Linked DNA regions of Homo sapiens: regions 2 and 3 are each linked to region 1. The links are contacts of gene promoters, found by promoter capture Hi-C in human tissues and cell types (Jung and others, 2019). All regions are on one chromosome and are shown on one strand. Each heading gives the region's core, a stretch centred on a gene start or on the middle of the fragment in contact. The rest is flanking DNA. Distances are from core to core; before and after follow the strand shown. Region 1 holds the start of HAUS3 (HAUS augmin like complex subunit 3). Region 2 overlaps FAM193A (family with sequence similarity 193 member A). Region 3 overlaps FAM193A (family with sequence similarity 193 member A).

Evidence for each region. The method cuts DNA at HindIII sites, captures the fragments that hold promoters and counts their contacts. A contact is called where the count stands out against the background at its distance.
Region 2: a contact is called between a fragment that was not itself captured here and the fragment with the promoter of HAUS3 in region 1, in 3 of the 25 tissues and cell types used here (IMR-90 fibroblasts, dorsolateral prefrontal cortex and hippocampus).
Region 3: a fragment that was not itself captured here is called in contact with the fragment with the promoter of HAUS3 in region 1 in 1 of the 25 tissues and cell types used here (heart left ventricle).

Annotation. Positions count from the first base shown.
Region 1 is chr4:2,240,205-2,244,699 of GRCh38, forward strand. It overlaps HAUS3 (HAUS augmin like complex subunit 3), which reads right to left and starts at 1,917. Exons shown (of 6, transcript NM_001303143.2): 1 at 1,847-1,917; 2 at 1,316-1,586; 3 at 1-889. The coding sequence starts at 742. POLN (DNA polymerase nu) reads right to left here and starts at 1,917. Exons shown (of 26, transcript NM_181808.4): 1 at 1,847-1,917; 2 at 1,316-1,586. It also overlaps the pseudogene COX6B1P5. RefSeq lists enhancers at 1,100-1,601, 1,208-1,307 and a silencer at 1,988-2,347. The HindIII fragment of the contact is 17,295 bases long and covers 1-4,495 here.
Region 2 is chr4:2,653,176-2,657,670 of GRCh38, forward strand. All of the region lies in intron 7 of FAM193A (family with sequence similarity 193 member A), which reads left to right. Among named protein-coding and RNA genes, the nearest start is that of TNIP2, 100 kb to the right of the region's middle. The HindIII fragment of the contact is 5,301 bases long and covers 1-4,401 here.
Region 3 is chr4:2,631,838-2,636,332 of GRCh38, forward strand. All of the region lies in intron 5 of FAM193A (family with sequence similarity 193 member A), which reads left to right. Among named protein-coding and RNA genes, the nearest start is that of FAM193A, 97 kb to the left of the region's middle. The HindIII fragment of the contact is 4,088 bases long and covers 1-3,818 here.

The DNA of each region.
Region 1 (4,495 bases), core at 667-3,166:
TAGATGGTGTCTGTATATCTAAAAGTTGAAAATTGTCTTCATTTGAACTTTCAACTACTTCATGTATACCCTGAAAGAACTGTTTTTTGGTATACAAAGTTAATGCTGCTGTGCTTTGCTCTTCCTGACTTAGGTATTTTTCCAAGGAAAATTGCGATAAAAATACCAGTGGATTTGTCCCTTGACCTAAATTAGAATGTCTGAAGAACATCATCAATTGTGTAACTTCATCAGTAAGAGCCTGAAGTTCATTACTGATCTTAGTGATCATTGCATTTAGAATTCCTTGACTCTGCTTCAGCTTTTTAGTGGCTTCTTCTTCTTTAGCATTTAACCTCAGAGATTTGTGGCTAGTTACTGAAGCCATCAATTGACATTTATTACGTCGCTGAATTTTTAGGTTCTTTAATTTCAGTAGAGTTTGAACCTCATCCTCTAATTTCTCCAGCTCTTTATCATCCAGTCTAGGTGTCTTCAAATCAGAAGTTTTACACGTTTTAAGAGCTTCATCCAATGCCGCCCCTTCTAGAATAGGCTTGCCTGATTTCTGAAGAATGCTAAAAGCTTCCAATTCTCTTTCAGACAACACGTTCTGTTCATTCACATTCCCACAAAACCACTTCAGAAACGATTCATCTTCAACGCCCTCAAACAACCAGTCAAAGTCTTCTCCATTAAGATTATCAGCTTTGGGATAACCAATTTTTTTTAATGTTTCCACAAACTCATTTCCACAACTCATGGTTTTAACTACCCCAATTTTGTTGTATCTGATATGGGTTTACGGTGTTGATTTTTAGAAAATAAATCCAAGCAGAAAAAAAGCTACGTTTTATACCAAGTCCACAGAGAAGGGAAAATATATTTTTAGAATCTATAATGATTCCTCCTAGGGGGGAAGAAAACAAGTATTAGACCACAAATATGACGACAGTGTTTTTAAAAAGAAGACACAGACAAATATCACATGATATCCGAGAGCGGGATAAATGACAGGTAGTCGTAGCTGCAATGTTTGATGATGATAAAGAGAAACAGAAACAATTAGGCTAGTTCTCAGAAAACCGCAACAGTAACGAAAAGTAATTAACAAGAAAGTGGATCTATTTGGATCCATTTTATCTTTTTTTCCAAAGATAAAATGGTTTAAAATGCATTACACTTTATAGAGCAGCATTTGTTTTTAATTCAAAATAAATGGATCCAAACAAACCCAAGCCACCAGGAGGCTAGGCAGCCTCTCTTCCCTGCCCTCCGTACGTAAGAAGACGCAAATAAGCATGGCACATCTTCTGAAGATCAACTAAATATTTACCTCAACGTCTCGCCGGGCAAGGCTCCACCTCCAGAGTCCACCACCGCGACGCGGAGAACAGCAGGAGCAGCAGGGAAGCGCGCGGCCACAATTAAGGGTGCTTCGGGCCGGCCTTCAGCCAGCGCTGAGGCAGCCCCGACGCCAGGGCCGCGCGAACCCCAGAGGCAGCGGCAAGCCCCAGGGATCCGCGGCCCCAAGGCCGCGATACACCAGACGCGCCAGCGGCAAAACCTTCCTTCGGAGGGTCACCCAGCTGTGACACCTAAGCACGCTGACAAAACAAACGCACAAGCCCACCGAATCGCCGTCGACACCGAGCTGCAGAAGACGGGGGTGACAGGCCCCGCACAGCCCCCGCCCCAGCTCCTCGCCCAGCGGACCGGGCCCTGATCCCCGGGCAGCTGCTGGAGCACCTGGAAGGAGCCCCCAGGAGCGCAGGAAAAAAAAGAGGCACCTGGGTGCAGACGGGGATCGCGGCCACTCCTCCAGCCCCACACCCCTGCGCCCAGAACCGAGGCCCGCGTCAGTCACCTCAGGAAGTTCCGCTTGCTTCTCGCAGGAGCCCGCCGCCACCGCCCTCCGTGCCCCGCGCGCCTCGCACTGCCTCACGGGAGCGCCTGGACGCGCGCAAGCGCACAAGGCGACGGCGTGGTCGTGGGGGATGACTGTTTGCGCAGGCGTAGTGTCAAAAGAGGCGGAGTCGGCGAGGCTGGACTATGGGGTGGAGCTGAGCAGGCGGCGCTCGGCCCCCGGCCGCTGCGGGCATCCTGCCTCCTGGGCGGGGCGCAGGGCAGAGAGAGGCGGGGTCTGGGCCGGGAAGGGCGGGGACAGGGCCTGGACAGGGGCGGGGCCTGGGCAGGGGGCGGAGCCTGGGCAATGAATGGGGTGCAGAGGGGTGCAGAGGGGTGCGGTGGGGCGCCCTCTGGGGAGCTGAAGCTGCGGGCCTGCTCTCAACGGAGCCGTCAGTTGTGCTTCAGGCCTGCCCTGCCCCGTACTTCAATCTAGACCCTCTGAAGGCACTTTTGAATGGTACAAAGAGCAGCGCAGGTTGGTGGTTGGGAGACAGGCTGGAGCCCGGCGGTGATAGCGCTCGCCCCCGAGAGAGACGAGTTCCCGGAACATTCACAGCAGCCCGACCAATGCCTGGTACATTTTAAGGGTTAGGGATTGTTCGCTTAGAGTCTTTTACAATGAACTTTATTTTGCAAAAACACTTAATTTCTAATCCCTCACCAGAACACTATGTAAAAGCTGACTTCTGGCCGGGCGCGGTGGCTCATGCCTGTAATCCCAGCACTTTGGGAGGCCGGGGGGGGGGGGGGGGGGGATCATGAGGTCAGGAGTTCGAGACCAGCCTGGCCAAGATGGTGAAACCCCATCTCTACTAAAAAATACAAAAATTAGCCGGGCGCGGTGGTGGGCGCCTGTAATCCCAGCGACTCGGGAGGCTGAGGCAGGAGAATCGTTTGAACCCAGGAGGTGGAGGTTGCAGTGAGCCGAGATCACGCCACTGCACTCTAGCCTGGGCGACAGAGCAAGACTCCGTCTCAAAAAAAAAAAAAAAAAAAAAGCTGACTTCCTCCACAATTCCCTTTTCAAAATGTTAGAAATAAACGGAATGGCCTGAGTTAAATACATCGATATATTTAACTCAAGGAGGATGGTACACCATTTCCAAAGAGGATGGCAGTCAGTGAAAGATGACTGAAACGGGATTGCTAAATTTCATGTGAATCTGGCTGATGCCCTACAGCCCAGTGAAACCAGACCTCTCTATTGGACAGAATTCGTTTGCATCTCTACCAAACAAAAATCCTTTGCCACTCCTCAGTCTTCCACAGGTTAGCAGGGGCTTTGGTCATGGGTAAATATAATAGTACTCCCTCCCTTCAGCGTCAAATGACCCTAAAGGTGGCTTGTTAGACAATGTCCTAGTCCAGGGTGACTAGGTAGAAGTCGTTTGGATAGTTTTTCTTAATATTTTTAAGGAGAGAAATAAGAATGTTCTAAGGCAAATATTGTAATCTGATCGAGTCAAAGATATTTCCTATTCATTCTTCACTTGTTTCACGTTTTTTTCCTCCTCTTTTAAAAGTCAATAAGGCCTAAAATGATCTGAAAAACAAACATGATGGGAAAAAATTCAAAGAGTGGTGCCCAATCTGCAGGCAAGGAAACCAGGGATGCTGGAACGGGGAGGCCTGGTGGGAGGACCCTTGCAGCCCAGGGTTGGAGGTTGGGGGTGTGCATCAGGGGGCAGAGTTGAGCCAGTTTGGACAGGAGGAAGTGGGAGCTGTGCAGGCAATGCCTTCCAGAAATGTTGCTGATGAGGCAAAGACTGGGTGGGAGGAGTGTGACACAGAGAGAGAGATACAGAGAGACAGAGAGAGACAGAAACAGAGAGACAGAGACAGAGAGACAGAGACAGAGACAGAGAGACACAGAGAGACAGAGACAGAGAGACAGAGACACAGAGACAGAGACAGAGAGACAGAGACACAGAGAGACAGATAGAGACAGAGACAGACAGAGAGACAGAGACAGACAGAGACACAGAGAGAGAGAGAGAGGAGAAAGACAGAGAGCGAGCATGCAAAACAACACAAGCTGAGGGGGTGGGAATGCAGGGCTGAGGGGAGGATTTTTTATTTTGTTTTGTTTGAAAATGAGAGGAACTCGGGGATATTTATAGACTGCAAGGAGGAACTCTGAGGAGACAGCATTAAAGACGGCAGAAAGACAAGGGGCTCCTTTATAGAAAGAGATCCCTGGAGGGCAGGAGGGGTGCACTCCAGAGCCCTGGAGGCCGTTCTAGAAACCCACTTTCCTAGTGACTCCTGGGTGGTTTCTTGGGCCACAAATTAATTCTCCATCTGATTTTGAATTGCTGACCATAGTTATTTGTTGGAAAGGTGTTTATGAGACCATAAAAGCCATAAAACCATTAAGTAAAAATTACAACAGTATCAGCCCCTGGAGTACAAATGACAAACACAATAGGTTTAACTATACAGATGTGGAAAGTTTTCTTCAGCTTGCCTTGGGAATTTAAGAAAGCAAGTATGTTACGTGTATTTCCAGGGTAAGCTTTCTTTTCAGCAGTCAAAATTATTTGGAGTTTTAGTAAGGTCAAAAGATAAATGGAACCCAGGAATTAATCCTCCCTGAAAAAGCCCATGA
Region 2 (4,495 bases), core at 501-3,000, 410 kb after region 1:
AGACTGAAAAATCCTTTGGGAATAGTAATTTCTTCAGGTATCTGTTTCTTGAAGGTAAACATTTATTTTGAAATATTATATATGGTATTATTGCTGTTGTTCTAGGGAAAATGGTATATATGTAAAAATAACACATACATGTTCTCTCTAGGGAGAAAATAACAGTGTCACTTAAAAAGTAAAGTGTATTTCTTTAAAATTGCATGTTACATTGCTTTTACAAAGAGAAAACCAGTCTCTTCACTAAAGCAACCAGAAGATGCTTTTTATTTTTATTTATTTTTTTTTAGACAGAGTCTCTCTCTGTCACCAGGCTGGAGTGCAGTGGTGTGATCTTGGCTCACTGCAACCTCTGCCTCCTGGGTTCAAGCAATTCTCCTGCCTCAGCCTCCCGAGTAGTAGGGACTACAGGCGCCCGCCACCACGCCCGGCTAATTTTTGTATTTGTAGTAGAGACAAGGTTTCACCCTGTTGGCCAGGATGGTCTAGATCTCTTGACCTCATCATCCACCCACCTCAGCCTCCCAAAGTGCTGGGATTACAGGCGTGAGCCACCATGCCCAGCCAGGAGATGCATTTTTATTTTCACTGTCTTGTGAAGAAACCATGAGAAACAATCTGCCACTAATACAATTGAGGGAAATTGAGCCACTTTAGTAACATCCAGAGAATAATAGTCATTCTGGAACCATGTATGCATGGGTGGGAGGTTGTGGGGAGCTGAAAACAACAGAAATTTATGCTCACAGTTCTTGAGGCCAGAAGTTCAGAATCAGTATGTCAGCAGGGCTATGTTCCCCTGAAGGCTTTGGGGGCAACTGCAGTGACCCCTGGAGTTCTTGGTTTGTGGCCACTCCACTCTCCACTGGAGCTGTTTTAATGCACTATTTAATTTAAAACCTTTGAATGAACATTGGTTGCTTCTAATCAATAACATTTTAGAAATTTTATACTGATTCAAAGGCTTTAAAATGTTGAATACGTGTAAAATAATTGAGTCTCTGTTCACAAATAAGTATGTATGTATGTGGCAAGAGAGTTGGTAGGTTTTGTTTGTTTGTTTGAGATGGAGTCTTACTCTCTCAACTAGGCGGTGGTGTCATCTCAGCTCACTGCAACCTCTGCCTGCTGGGCTCAAGCAGCCCTCCCACCTCAGCCTCCAGAGTAGCTGGGATCACAGCGCACACCACCATGCCTGGCTAATTTTTTTTTTTTTTTTTTTTTTTGTATTTTTGGTAGAGACGGGGTTTCACCGTGTTGCCCAGGCTGGAAGTTTGAAATCAATTATTTTTATGTTTGCTGTCTGAAATTCATTCTTTCTCTGTTGTTTGACACATACATAAGCCTGCAGGTACCCAAATTTGTTCCAAAAAAAAAAAAATTTCCCTGAGGCTGTGAGGAGAGAGTCAAGGAAGAGGTTTTTATTGATGTTATTTATCAAACAACTCTTACACTGTACACTAAGATTTTATAATAACTGCAGACATATACAATGAAAAGGGAGAATTGGCACCAATATTGAATCTTCCCATCCAAGAATATGGTATGTCACTCTTTTTTAAGGTTTTTAAAAATATATTGTATTATGGTTTTATAGTTTGTAAATCTTGACCCATTTTGTGCCTCCATAGTCTGTAGTTTGAGGGGCTGCTATGACCGGCATCTTGAGTGGGGAATGTGTGTTTAAAGCATTCATGCTGGAAACTGGGAAAATGGAGATGCCCTGTGACCAGTCATCTCGCCAGATGCCGGCATTAACTCTTGTAGTTTTTGAGTTGAGTCTTGAATCTGGGAGTCTAGGAAATCACGGTATCTTCTACAAATAATGATAGGTTTATCTCATCTTTTCCAGCATTTGTCCCCTTTTTTTGGCTTCCACTAGGACCTTCAGACCAGTGTGAATAAGAGCATTGATACTGGCACCCTTGTCCAGTCCTGGCTTCGAGGGGCTGCTGTGAGTGTTTCACCATGAAGTTTGATGCTTGCCATACAGACTTTTGATACTTTCTAGCAAATTAAAGAAGTTTACCTTTATTTCTAGTTGATTTAGGCTATCATTTAAAAAATAAAACAGGAAGATGTCAAAATTGATGGTATGATTTTTCTTATATCAATTTCTGTATGAGTTAAGAGTTTAGGTTACCTAATTTTGAGACATTCTTGCGTTCCTGGGATGAAACCCTAGTAGATCATGATATGTCATTCTTTATTCCATTATTAAATTTATTAGCTGATATTTGATTTAGGACGTGTGTGTGTGTGCGTGTGCGCCTGTGTGTGTGTGTGTGTGTATTCGGACAGCTATATAAAATTATTTTTAGAGACAGGGTTTCACACTGCTGGCCAGGCTGGAGTGCAATGACAAGATATTAGTTCTCTGCAGCCTCGAACTCCTGGGCTCAAGCTCTCCTCCCACTTCAGCCTCCTGAGTAGCTAGGACCATAGGCACATGCCAGTGTGCCAGCTAAGTTTTGGCTTGGTGCAGTGGCTCACAGCTGTAATCCCAGCACTTTGGGAGGCCAAAGCAGAAGGATCGCTTGAGCCCAGGAGTTTGAGGCCAACCTGGGCAACATAGGGAGAACCCCATCTCTACAAGGAAAAAAAAATTAGCCAGGTGTGGTGGTGTGTGCCTGTGGTCCTAGCTACTTGGGAGGCTGAGGTGGGAGGATCATAGGCCCAGGAGGTTGAGGCTACAGTAAGTTGTGATCATACCACTGTAGTCCAGCCTTGGTGACAGAGCAAGAGACCTTGTCTCAAAGATAATTTTATTTACAAACAAATGAAATTTTTTGTAGCGGTGGGGGTCTTGCCTTGTTACCTAGACTGTTCTCAAATTCCTGGCCTCAAGTGATCCTCCTGCTTTGGCCTACCAAAGTGCTGGGATTACAGGTGTGAGCCACTGCATCCAGCCAGGACTTTTATATCTATATTCTGAGGTATAATTGAGTTGTCTTGGTCTTTGAGGTCTTACTTGTTTTGTATAAAGGTTGTGCTAGCTTCATAGAATGAATTGAGAAACTCTGTGTTTTTGCAATTTTCAGGAATAGTTTAAATTTTCTGTCCCATGAAGGGTTTGATAGAACCTACCGTAAAACTTTGGGGCCTAATTCATTTTTACAGGGAAGAAGAACAAGAACTATAGATCTTGTCTGCCTTTTTCATTTATATGACATTTATTAGTGTATTTCAGGTTTCCTTCTCCCTCGAGTCAGTTTTACAAATAGAATTTGGCTCAAGAAGTTATCCATATCGTTTAGTAAAGGGTTGTAAACTCACACCTGCAGGGCTAGGGAAAGTCACGGAAATGGATGATACAGGGTAGAGCGGCCCCAGCGTTCCTGTGGTGCTCATGGCCGTCACCACCCTCACCTTGAAAGTGCCCTCAGTTGGGATAGGCCCTAGTGGAGCCTGGGGCATGGGTAGCGAAGGCCACACCTGTGTGTGCGTGCGTGTGTCCTCCTGTTCTCTGTTAGGGGCAGTCCCCACTTGGGTCCAACAGTCTTCACAGGGCCACCAGAGCTGCCAGGTTGTCAAGAGAAGCCAGAAATCTGGATTATTAGGTGAAATCTCGAACACTTTTAAAAAGAGGTGAAGTGCAAGTCGGACAAAATAGCCCATGAGCCCCTTGTTTGTAACTCTTCTTTAGATGTTACAAAGTATCAACTTATAAAGAGACTTTGTCTCACAGTTTAAAAACAATCTTCTGGCCAGGCGGGCACAGTGGCTCACGCTTATAATCCCAGCACTTTGGGAGGCCGAGGCAGGTGGATCACTTGAGGCCAGGAGTTCCAGACCAGCCTGGCCAACATGGTGAAACACCGTCTCTAGTAAAAATAGAAAAATGAGCTGGGCGTGGTGGCGGGCACCTATAATCCCAGCTAACTCAGGAGGCTGAAGCACAAGAATCGCTTGAACCCAGGAGGCAGAGGTTGCATTGAGCCGAGATTGTGCCACTGCACTCCAGCTTGGGTGATATAGCGAGACTCAGTCTCAAAAACAAAACAAAACAATCTTCATATGTACCCATATCCTTTCTCAATCCTGATTTTTTTTTAATGTTACCTTTTTCCCCCTTTTTCAGCCTTGACAGAAGCTTACAGAACCGACTTTCGGTTTTATTAATCACATATGCTTCTCTGTTTCCTCAGTAATTTCTCTTTTTGCCTTTAACTCCTAACTTCTTTGTTAGTTTTGTTTTGCTTTGCTTTTTAAGTCTCATATGCCTGTTAATAGCTCTTCCTTTCCTGTAGTCTGAGCTCTTCGTGTGGCAGGACCGAGTTGCCATCATCTTGCTTATTTCTAACACATTCAGGGCACATAATGGGCATTCAGTAAATAGTGAATGTTCATCCACTGTATTGACAGATTTAGTCAGAATATCTTGATTTCTCTTTTTACTGTTTATTCATCTCTGTCTTTCATGTGAGAAAAGTACTTGTGATGAGTTTGAGTAAAATAAAGAAATACCTGTTAACATATTTGTAGTATTGTATCT
Region 3 (4,495 bases), core at 525-3,024, 390 kb after region 1:
CAATCCTCAACAGCCTCAGTGCCCCCACGCTTTGGAAGGAGACCAGAGACAAGCCCTCAAAGCTTCCTTGACTGTTACTAATAGTCTATGGAGTTTTTCATCACTTAAACTTTATTATTAAATAATACTTAACTGTATTTGGGTGCTAGTTTTGGGTGCTTTCTTTCTTTTAATAAAGAAAAGGAATTTATTTCTCATGGTTAGGAAGGCTGAGAAGTCTAAGTTTGAGGGGCCACATCTGGTGAGAGCTTTCTTGCAGGTGGGGACTTGGACTCTGAACAGAGTCCAAAGGTGGTACAGGGCATCACATGGCGAGAGGGCTGAGCATCAGTTTTGGGTGCTTTCTTAGTGGTAAACCTACATTTTGAAACAAATACAGTAAGCATTGGCCTTGGTCTTTATCTGATTCTCAAGTTGATGGACCCTCTTAGAAAAATTTACATACAGCCCGGGTGTGGTGGCTCATACCTGTAATCCTCGCACTTTGGGAAGCCAAAGTGGGAGGATCACTTGAGCCCAGGAGCTTGAGACTAGCCTAGGCAACATGGGGAGACCCCACCTATACCAAAAAAATTTAAAATTAAATTAACCAGGCGTGATGACGCATGCTACTCAAGAGGCTGTGAGGCAAGAGGATCATTTGAGCTCAGGGTTGAGGCTGTGGTGAGCCAGTGTACTCCAGCTTGGGAATAGAGTGAGATCCTATCTCAAAAAGAAAAGAAAAAATTACATACATGTAATTGTAAGTCATTTCAGGGGGTTCACAGACTTCCTCAAGCTTCACTGCGCCAAGCCATGGGGAGGTATCTATTCTGAGAAGAGGTAGCGAGGTGAATGGGTAGGGTGAGGGGTGGGGGTGGGGCAGGGGGGCAGTTATCCTGTTTCAAGGTCTGAGTCCACTGGGTAGTGCCACCAGGCTTCCTTCTGGTACCTCGTCCTTCCTCTGGCATCTCTCGCAGCACAGCCTCCCCGTCTCTACCTGAGAGTCTGCCTGCCCTTCAGAGGTTCAAATCCAGAGCCCCTCCTCTGTCTTCTACAAGAACACTGGCTCAGGTTAAGAAGGATGCTCTCCAGCCCACCTAAACCTGGTGCCCAGAGAGACTCTGGTAGTGAAGACAGCAGCTGTTGCTGCTCTCCAGAAAATGCTGGCGAGGTCTGCACCTCCTCAGATAGTTACTGTAGGATACTGTTTTATGAAGCTGACAAAAATTAATTTGAACCATATTTATTAGAGCAAATTCCTAGCAGTTGACATAGAAATAATTTCTTGTGGCTTGAGGCCGGGTGCGGTGGCTCACGCCTGTAATTCCAGCACTTTGGGAGGCCGAGGCAGGCAGATCACCTGAGGTCAGGAGTTCAAGACCAGCCTGGCCAATATGATGAAACCCCGTCTCTACTAAAAATAACAAAAATTAGCCGGGCATGGTGGCGGGCGCCTGTAGTCCCAGCTACTCGGGAGGCTGAGGCAGGAGAATCACTTGAACCCGGGAGGCAGAGGTTGCATTGAGCCAAGATTGTGCCAGTGCACTCCAGTCTGGGCAACAGAGCGAGACTCTGTCTCACACACAAAACAAAACAAAATAAAAAAGAAATAATTTCTTGTGGCTTGAAAAAAATGCATACACCCAGAAGCTGTTTGATTAGTGTCTTTTTTCACTTCCTTTACACATAGAAATACCCACATTGATTTCTAGGGGTCCAGCAGACTAGATACCCTTAACTATTCCTTCCTCCAAGGGAAACAACTGAATTTACTAGATAATAAAAAAATAAGCCAGGCGTGGTGGCTTACGGCTATAATCCCAGCACTTTGGGAGGCCGAGGTGGTTGGATCACCTGAGGTCAGGAGTTAGAGACCAGCCTGGCCAACGTGATGAAACCCCGTCTCTACTAAAAATGCAAAAAATTAGCCTGGCGTGGTGGCACGCGCCTATAATCCCAGCTACTTGGGAGGCTGAGGCAGGAGAATTGCTTGAACCTGGGAGGTGGAGGTTGCAGTGAGCCGAGATGGGGCCGCTGCACTCCAGCCTGGGCAACAAGAGCAAAACTCCGTCTCAAAAAAAAGATGAAATCTTTTAAAGTGTATGGCTGAGATGGCATGAAAGGGAGTAAGTCGTAGTGGTGAAAAACCAATTGAAAGCTGGAATCCTGAGAAATACATGGGCTTGAAAGTCAGCATTTGCTGTGGGTATTTCTTCTGATCCTGGGAGACAAGAGACAACCTAGCCCAGGATGGGGTCTGCACATAATGCTGGGACTGTAAGTGACGACACTAGTAAGGTTGAAGTGGAAACTCCGAGCACCGAAAGGGACAGCAGGGATCTGCAGCTCTCGTGGCCTTGGGGTGGAGATGCAGGGAGTACAGCTTCCCAGAGACTTGGTAGCTGTCAGCCAGCTGCCACATGAGCTGGAGTGTGAATAAATGTTGGTGTGGTATGAACAGCCCAAGCCTGGAAGTTACTTTACAGTGGTCCAGGATTGCTGGTAAAGTCAGGCAGCATGCAGATCACCTCTGGAAACCTTCAATCTGACCTCAGAGAATTCGAATAGATAAAATCCCCCCAAATGAGCAGCTCACAGTAAAAAAAGTCATAAAACACAAGGTTCATGACAGCACAGTTAAAAGCCAGCAGAAGCAGTAGACAGAATCACATAACAAAGATATTTAAATTTTCAAAAAAGAATATAGAGTAACTTTGTTAACTGTGCTTAAAGAAGCTTTGTAAAAGTTTGAAATTGGGAGTTAAGGATTAATACTCTAAAGAATGATAATTCAGATTTGAAAAAATATCAAAACTAGAAACAAAAACTTTTTTTAGAGATGATAGCTGAGAAATTCTCAGAATTACTGAAAAATACTAGTGTTCAGCAAGGAAACGTATCAGATTTCCCAAGTAAGATGTTGAAAAATCCTTCTCTGGTTATAGTATAATGACAGCTACAGAACATCAAAGAAAAAGTGATCTCAAACACAAAACACAGGACTTTGTTGAAAATGGTCTGTGAGATGTTATAATGTGTAATTCTGGATTCTGGGTAGAGACTACAATGAATCTATGTACTCCTTACCCAGATGCGCAGTTAATCAGCATTTTGCCACTCTGACTTCATTATGCCTTCTTTTTCTTCCACTTTCTCTTCCCTCTTTTTGATGCAGTATTTTAGTATGGGTCCCAGACAATGTGCTTTTTGTCTTAGAATATTCCAATAAGTGTCTCTAAAAATAGTCATCCATTATCTTCTGTAGCCACAGTTCCATTGTCACATCCATGAAGACTGACGGTAATAGTAATTTCTTACCGACTAATGCCAGCCAATCTCTTTTTATGGTTGGGTTATTCCAATCAGGACCCAAAAATCTTCACAAATTCATAGCCACATTATTACACTGCCATCCAGTGATCTATGCAGCACCAGCTTAAGATAAACTCGGTGTCTCAGGGCAGTAATTCTCAACAGTTTTGGACTTAGGCCCCTTTATACTTAAAAATTTAGGACCCCGAAGTGTGCTTTTTTATGCAGACTTACATCAGTACTTGCTGTATTGAAATTCAAACTGAGAAAATTTTTTAAATGCTTATTGTCATTTTAAAAATGTAAACTCTCATTAGATTACATAAATTGCATATTTTAACATATATTAGAGAATGTAACAAATAATACACTTTTACATTAGATAATGTAACATAAATTACATATGTAAAAATAACTATTTTCCAAAATAAAACATTGTTGCCCAGGCTGGAGTGCAGTGGTGAGATCTTGGCTCACTGAAACCTCTGCCTCCCCAGTTCAAGCGATTCTCCTGCCCCAGCCTCCCAAATAACTGGGATTACAGGTGCCTGCCACCACATCTGGCTAATTTTTTTGTATTTCTTTTAGTAGAGATGGGGTTTCACCATGTTGGCCAGGCTGGTCTCGAACTCCTGACCTCAGGTGATCTGCCCGCCTCGGCCTCCCAAAGTTTTGGGATTATGGGCGTGAGCCAGCGCACCCGGCCAACATATTTCTTAAGAAGAGTGGGTCACTCACACCTCTCCAGATCTCTCTGTAAAAGCAGTGGGAGTCTCATCTGCATTCAGTCTGTTGTCATAGGTTGTCTGGTTGAAGTTATTGAAGAAAATTCAACTTTTTACAGATAATGTAGTTGGAAAAAGGACGAATTTTTTTTTTTTTGAGACGGAGTCTTAGTTGGAAAAAGGAATAATTTGTCTTTTTGTGTTTTTTTTGAGACAGAGTCTCACTCTGTCTCAAAAAAAAATCTCGCTCTGTCTCGCTGTGTCCCTCATGATCTCGGCTCACTGCAACCTCTGCTTCCTGGGTTCAAGTGATTCTCCTGCCTCAGCCTCCCGAGTAGCTGGAACTACAGGTGGGTGCCACCACGCCAGGCTAATTTTTTGTATTTTTAGTAGAGTCGGGGTTTCACTGTGTTAGCCAGGATGGTCTCGATCTCCTGACCTCGTGATTCGCCTGCCTTAGCCTCCCAAAGTGCTGG